Linked DNA regions of Homo sapiens: region 1 is linked to region 2. Evidence: promoter capture Hi-C in 16 types of primary human blood cells and fetal thymus (Javierre and others, 2016). All regions are on one chromosome and are shown on one strand. The core of a region is centred on a gene start or on the middle of the fragment in contact, and the rest is flanking DNA. Distances in the headings are between cores, read along the strand shown. Region 1 overlaps STARD9 (StAR related lipid transfer domain containing 9). Region 2 holds the start of TGM7 (transglutaminase 7).

The links. Contacts are between HindIII fragments. The CHiCAGO score rates a contact against its expected background, and 5 or more counts as called.
Region 1: a fragment that was not itself captured here is called in contact with the fragment with the promoter of TGM7 in region 2 in 1 of 17 cell types (erythroblasts); the score reaches 6.1 in erythroblasts.

The regions. Positions count from the first base shown.
Region 1 is chr15:42,681,354-42,684,540 of GRCh38, forward strand. It overlaps STARD9 (StAR related lipid transfer domain containing 9), which reads left to right. Exons shown (of 33, transcript NM_020759.3): 21 at 69-259; 22 at 751-1,222; 23 at 2,763-3,187. Among named protein-coding and RNA genes, the nearest start is that of CDAN1, 54 kb to the right of the region's middle. The HindIII fragment of the contact is 2,280 bases long and covers 231-2,510 here.
Region 2 is chr15:43,300,624-43,303,785 of GRCh38, forward strand. TGM7 (transglutaminase 7) reads right to left here and starts at 1,632. Exons shown (of 13, transcript NM_052955.3): 1 at 1,618-1,632. The coding sequence starts at 1,627. The HindIII fragment of the contact is 1,629 bases long and covers 297-1,925 here.

The sequences.
Region 1 (3,187 bases), core at 121-2,620, 620 kb before region 2:
CTGCTATCAGTTTGTCCTGAGCTTGGTTTGCATTTCCCCTTGGGTAACCTCAGCCGCTTCTGTGACAGGAGAGCGCTTGAAGAGCAATGTGACGAGGACCATCAGACACCGAGGGATGGAGAGACATCCCACAGGGCCCAGATTCAGCAGCAGCAGAGCTACGTAGAGGATTTGAGGCATCAAATCCTAGCAGAAGAGATTCGAGCTGCGAAGGAACTGGAATTTGACCAAGCTTGGATTAGCCAGCAGATTAAAGAAAGTAGGTGTCCACCACTTAATGTGTCTGCCTCACCTCCTTATTCTTTCATTTTCATGCTTCCTCAGCCTTCTGTATTCTCTCTTTTGTTTTCTTTGTGATATGATGGAATCTTTGGTATTAGGTGTTCTCTTTTCTTTTAGACACCAGAGATTCTTATAAGAAGAGGGCTGGAAGCAAGAATAAGGACGCTAATTTCCTTATTGTCCTCAGAATTACGGACCTCCTACTTACTGCTCCTCATTTGGTCATGTATCCATACCCTACCGCCTGCCCTAGCACGTGCCCACTGCTGTGCTGAGTCCTGAGGGTCTTCATTCCCTTACCTTGTGGTAAGGGAGCCCTGTAGCCCTGCAGCCCTCACCCTGCCACATCACCTTGGCCAGCTCTTTCACTCCACACAGGTCCAGCCATGGCTGGAGGTATCTGAGTCCAGGCAGCCACAAGCAGGGAAGGAGATGCTGAAATTCTCTCTGGGTGTTTTTGGTTCCCAGACCAGCAGTGTCTGCTCAGAGAAGAGACCTGGCTGGCCAGCTTGCAACAGCAGCAGCAAGAAGACCAGGTAGCAGAGAAAGAACTTGAGGCATCTGTGGCACTTGATGCTTGGCTTCAGACAGATCCTGAGATTCAGCCATCCCCATTTGTCCAAAGTCAGAAAAGGGTGGTGCACCTGCAGCTCCTGCGGAGACACACTCTTCGGGCAGCAGAGCGGAATGTCCGGCGGAAAAAGGTCTCATTCCAGCTAGAGAGAATCATCAAAAAGCAGAGGCTGCTGGAGGCCCAGAAGAGACTGGAGAAGCTCACGACATTGTGCTGGCTCCAGGATGACAGCACCCAGGAGCCCCCATACCAGGTCCTCAGCCCTGATGCCACAGTCCCACGGCCTCCATGTAGAAGCAAATTGACGAGTTGCAGTTCTTTGAGCCCCCAAAGACTCTGCAGCAAGCACATGCCCCAGCTACACAGGTACAGCCAGTAGTTGTCACTGGGAAGCACTCGGTTAAAGTTTACAACCTTCTTGCCCAGGTAGTTTTCTGTTTTTCCCCATGCCTCATTTCCTCAGTCTGTGAAATGGAAGAATGTGTATATTTCTCTCTTCCTCATGACTTTTTCCATCTTCTGGTTACTCTTCTTTCTGTGTATATCGTTTTAGATTCAGGCCTTTCCCATCTTCCTTACCCCCTGAGTAGCAATTCTTGCTTCTTTGGTAACATCTTAGGAGTAAGGATCTCGGCCTCACTTTTCGTCTGTTCCTTAGACCTGGGCTATCCATATACGTTTCCTTGTATGTCACACCTCAATCTTGTCATGCCTGTAACCAGACTTCTTGACTCCTACACCACCTCCCTCCCTCTCCCTCCTCGACCTGCCACATCAAGTGAGCTTTCTCACCCCACCTCCCACCTGGTGACTGAGCTATCTTTTTGACTCCCAGGTTCAAGTTGGGACCTTCCTTGTTTCTTTTCTCCATTACTTCTTACATGCCATCAAGGCAGGGCTGTATTATCTCCCAGACTCCTTGGAGCAAGGGTTTGTGTCTTATACCTCTTTGTATCCTCAGGACCTAGCACAGGTTCTTGTCCATAGGACGTTCACAATTAACGTCTGTTAGTGTTGTGTTTGCTCACCTCTCTGGTCTTCAAAGTACCAGGTGGGCTTTTTAAAAAAACTTTATTATGAAAAAATTTTAAACATATGCCAAGTTGGAAGAATAGTACATGTATCACTGATATTATTCAGCAATTATTAGGTTTTACACACTTGCCTACCTTCCCATTTTCTGAAGTTTTTTAAAGCAATTTCTAGACACCATGTCACTTTAGTTCTACATTTCTAAGTATATACTTCTAAAAAAAAATGGACTTTTCTTGTAACCACAATGTTATTGTGACAGCTACCAAAATTAAGATTATTTGATGTATTCTAAAACCTAGGCCATATTCAAATTTCTCTGCTGCCCAAAACTATTTACAGTTTTCTTTTTTCTCTCTCTTTTTTCTCTAACATGGTTCAGCATTGAAACCGTTGGTTTTTCAAATCAAGATCCAAGTAGGATTTACACACTGCATTTGTTTGTTGTTTCTCAGGTTTCTTTTAATCATTCTTCTTGTTTTATTTGTAATCATTATTTTTATTTCTTTTTATTGATAATTATAGTTCTGTAGAATATGTATCACTCTATAGATTTATCTTTTGGTTCCTCATAATACCATTTAAATTGTTCCTCTATTCCTCATATTGCCTATTAATAGGAAGCTTTCCCTACAAGTGTGATTAGCTTCAGTTCAGTTTTTTAACAAGATGAAGAAATTGAGGAACAGAGTGGGCCTGGAGCCTCTTGGAGAACTAGGACTAGAGTCCACAATTTCCTTTTATACCTGGAGAGCTTTTCTCTGGGTCTGAAGTCTATAGGAGACAGTGACACTGGCCTTGTTTTTAACCTCCTTCTGTCCACAGGAAGTAGTACCTCTCACATCTTCTGAGATAGCTTTCCTTGTCTTCACAGCATTTTCCTAAGTTGGGATCCCTCTACCACATTGCCACCTAGGCCTGACCCTACACACCAAACATCAGAGAAAACATCATCAGAAGAGCATTTGCCACAGGCTGCTTCCTACCCTGCAAGGACAGGGTGCCTCCGCAAGAACGGCCTGCATTCCTCAGGTCATGGGCAGCCCTGCACAGCCAGAGCAGCCTTGGCCAGGAAGGGAGCCTCAGCTCCAGACGCTTGCCTCACCATGAGTCCCAACTCTGTTGGCATCCAGGAAATGGAGATGGGGGTTAAGCAGCCCCATCAGATGGTGAGCCAGGGCTTAGCATCTCTGAGGAAATCAGCTAACAAACTAAAGCCAAGGCATGAGCCAAAGATCTTCACCTCTACTACCCAGACCAGAGGGGCGAAGGGACTAGCAGACCCTAGCCACACACAAG
Region 2 (3,162 bases), core at 382-2,881:
ACCCTGTCTCTACTAAAAATACAAAAAATTAGCCAGGCGTGGTAGCGGGCGCCTGTAGTCCCAGCTACTCGGGAGGCTGAGGCAGGAGAATGGCGTGAACCCTGGAGGCGGAGCTTGCAGTGAACCGAGATTGCGCCACTGCACTCCATCCAGCCTGGGCAATAGAGCAAGACTCCGTCTCAAAAATATATGTGTATATATATAACTGTTTTAGACTTATTCTAGTTGGTGATAGCCAAGGGGAAAAGATATGCTAAACTCTAGCACTAAAGTACCCTGGAATCTAGCACGTGACAAGCTTCTTGAGCCTTCTCTGTCAAACTCTGTCTTGCATTTAAAAACCATTTATATCTCTATTTTTATTTTGTGTTTGTTTGAGACAGGATCTCACTTTTTCTCCCAGGCCGGAGTGCAGTGGCGCAATCTCAGCTCAATGCAGCTTTGACCCCCCCAGGCTCATGCAGTCCTCCCGCCTCAGCCCTCCAAGTAGCTGGAACTACAGACTTGTGCCACCATACCCGGCTAATTTTTGTATTTTTAGTAGAGACAGTATTTCACTATGTTGGACAGGCTGGTCTCGAACTCCTCAGCTCAAGCGACCCGCTTGCCTTGGCCTCCCAAAGTGCTGGGATTACAGGCCTGTGCCACCACGCCCAGTGTGAGACACAGTGCCTGGCCATTAGAACATGATACATGCTTTAGAACATTATTTTAAGACATACATGGCCGCGTGTGGTGGCTCATGCCTGTAATCCCAGCACTTTGGGAGGCCAAGGTGGGTGGGTCACCTGAGGTCAGGAGTTCAAGACCAGCCTGGCCAACATGGCGAAACCCCACCTCTACTAAAAATACAAAAATTAGCCGTGTATGGTGGCAGGCACCTGTAATCCCAGCTACTCAGGAGGCTGAGGTAGGAGAATCCCTTGAACTCAGGAGGCAGAGGATGCAGTGAGCCGAGATCGCGCCATTGCACTCCAGCCTGGGCTACAAAGGGAGACTCCATCTCAAAAAAAAAAAAAAGAAAAAGAAAAGAAATACATGACCCATGTTTAGTGCCCTCCCTGGCAGGCCGCATGTGTTGGCCAGGCTGGCCCAGCCTGCGGGGGCCTGTTCTTCTCACTCCCAGGAGAGGAGTGGCAGGGTTCTGAAGGGATCGAAAAAGGGGCCTGAACTCAGGGGTGGGGGCAGCAACTCTCAGTGAGGACCTGAGAGTCAGGGGAGAAGCTGGACAAGGGAGAGGTCTAGGGTCTGAGAGGGGTCCTCCCACAGCTTCAGAGTTGGCCATAGAAATAGCCTCCCAAGCACCCAAGGACACCTGGTGGCAGGGGCCAAGCTCTTTTTGGGGCTCCTCAGACTTCCCAAGGCCATTTCAGCCCCCCAGGTTTTAAAGAAAAGGCTGTTCACAGCTTCAGAAAAGAAAACGAATGGCTGTAGGATTTGTGCCCCAAGGTCCAAATGCAGATGGAGAAGTAAGAAGAAGGAGCCGTATTGCACAATGAACTACCAATCATCAATCCAGGCTCTCCTGTCGCTTCCCTACATCCTCTACCCTCTCCAAACTTCTCCCCTCTCTTGACTTAGCACCTCCGAAAAGGTAAGTCGATTCCCAGTACTCACCCTGATCCATCTCCCTCCTTCTCCTGTCGGTCAAGGCCCTTCAACTAGTCACCAGTACGATTCGAGACCTAATTGCCTCTTGAGCATTTACAGTCACCCTACTAGAACCTTCCCTTCCATCCCTGAGTCGGGCGGGGCTGCCACTTCCTCCTCCTCCCACTCCTCCTCTTAAATTTCCCGTTGTTCCAGGTACATCTTGGCTTAAGGAAGGGAGCTTCTGACTTAAGCCTTGTAAAAATGTGCTGAGGGATTTGTTTCTGTGGCCTCCTTTTTGAGCTGAGAAGACTCACAAGTGATGTGAATGGCAAAGCTTGGCTTGAAGCTGTTCCCTTGTGCCTCTGTCACTTCAAGGCCTGGGACCCGATTCGATCTAAGCCAGTTCGGTCTGGCTTCCCCTGACCATATGGGTGTTGGGTAAGAAAGAGCTATGAGGAAGGTCATAGAAAGAGTCATGAAGAAAGATTTGCACAGCCCATCAGGACCCAGGGAGCTTTGCATCTTGAAGAAAAATAAAGCACACTGAAATACTGAATTATTAATGCTGCTGATTAAAAATGAAGTTGACAAAGTTTCCAGTGACAAGGAAAAATGCCCATAATGTGATATTAACTGGAAGGAAAAAGTAGAATAGGAAAACAGTGCAGTTGTTCTCACTCATATGTGGGACCTGAAGAAGTTGAGATCAGAGAAGCAGAGAGCAGAGTCGTGGTGCTTAGAGGCTGGGAAGGGTGGGTGGGAGCAGGGATAGAGGTTGGTTAAGGGATACAAAATTACAGCTAGATAGGAAAACTAGGTTCTAGTGTTCTATAACACTGCAGCGTGACTATATTTAATACGAATTTATTGCATATTTTCGAATAACTGGAAGAGAGGTTTTTGAGTGTTCCCAACACAAAGAAATGATCAATGTTTGAGATGATGGATATTCTGATTACCCTGATTTGATCATTATACATTGTATACATGTATCAAAATACATCAGAATGTCACTCTGTACCTCATAAATATGTACACTATTACATGTTAATTAAAAATAAAATAATTTTTTAAAAAACAGTGTAGTTTAACAGTGTAAAAAATATTATTTATGCAGATAGACCCATTTTTAAAAGATAGAAGAAAATATAACAAACTGTGGCTAAGAGCAGTGAGATTGTGAATGTGCTTTCTTTTTTATATTTTACTGAATTTTTTAAAAATTCCACAGTGGGAGTGTAAGATGTTTTTAATTAGGGAGAAAAAAACACTTTTTTTTAAAGAGAAAGAAAGAAAAAGAATAGGAAGATCATGGCAGGAGATCCAGACATGTGTGTATGTGTTTCCCAGATTCAAAGTTTAAGGAGAGAAGTGTCCATTCAGCACTCCTGGAGGAGGAACTTAGTTTGGTCAAAGAATAAGTGCTGCAGACAGAAAAACTTTAAAGCTATTTACATGTTTACTAATTATTGTCAAACATATAGAAGACCTTCGTAATTCCCTGAGTTAATCTGTGTGATTCATTCGTCACAAATTCCTGCACCTATTGTAACCAAAGCTTTCAGTCAC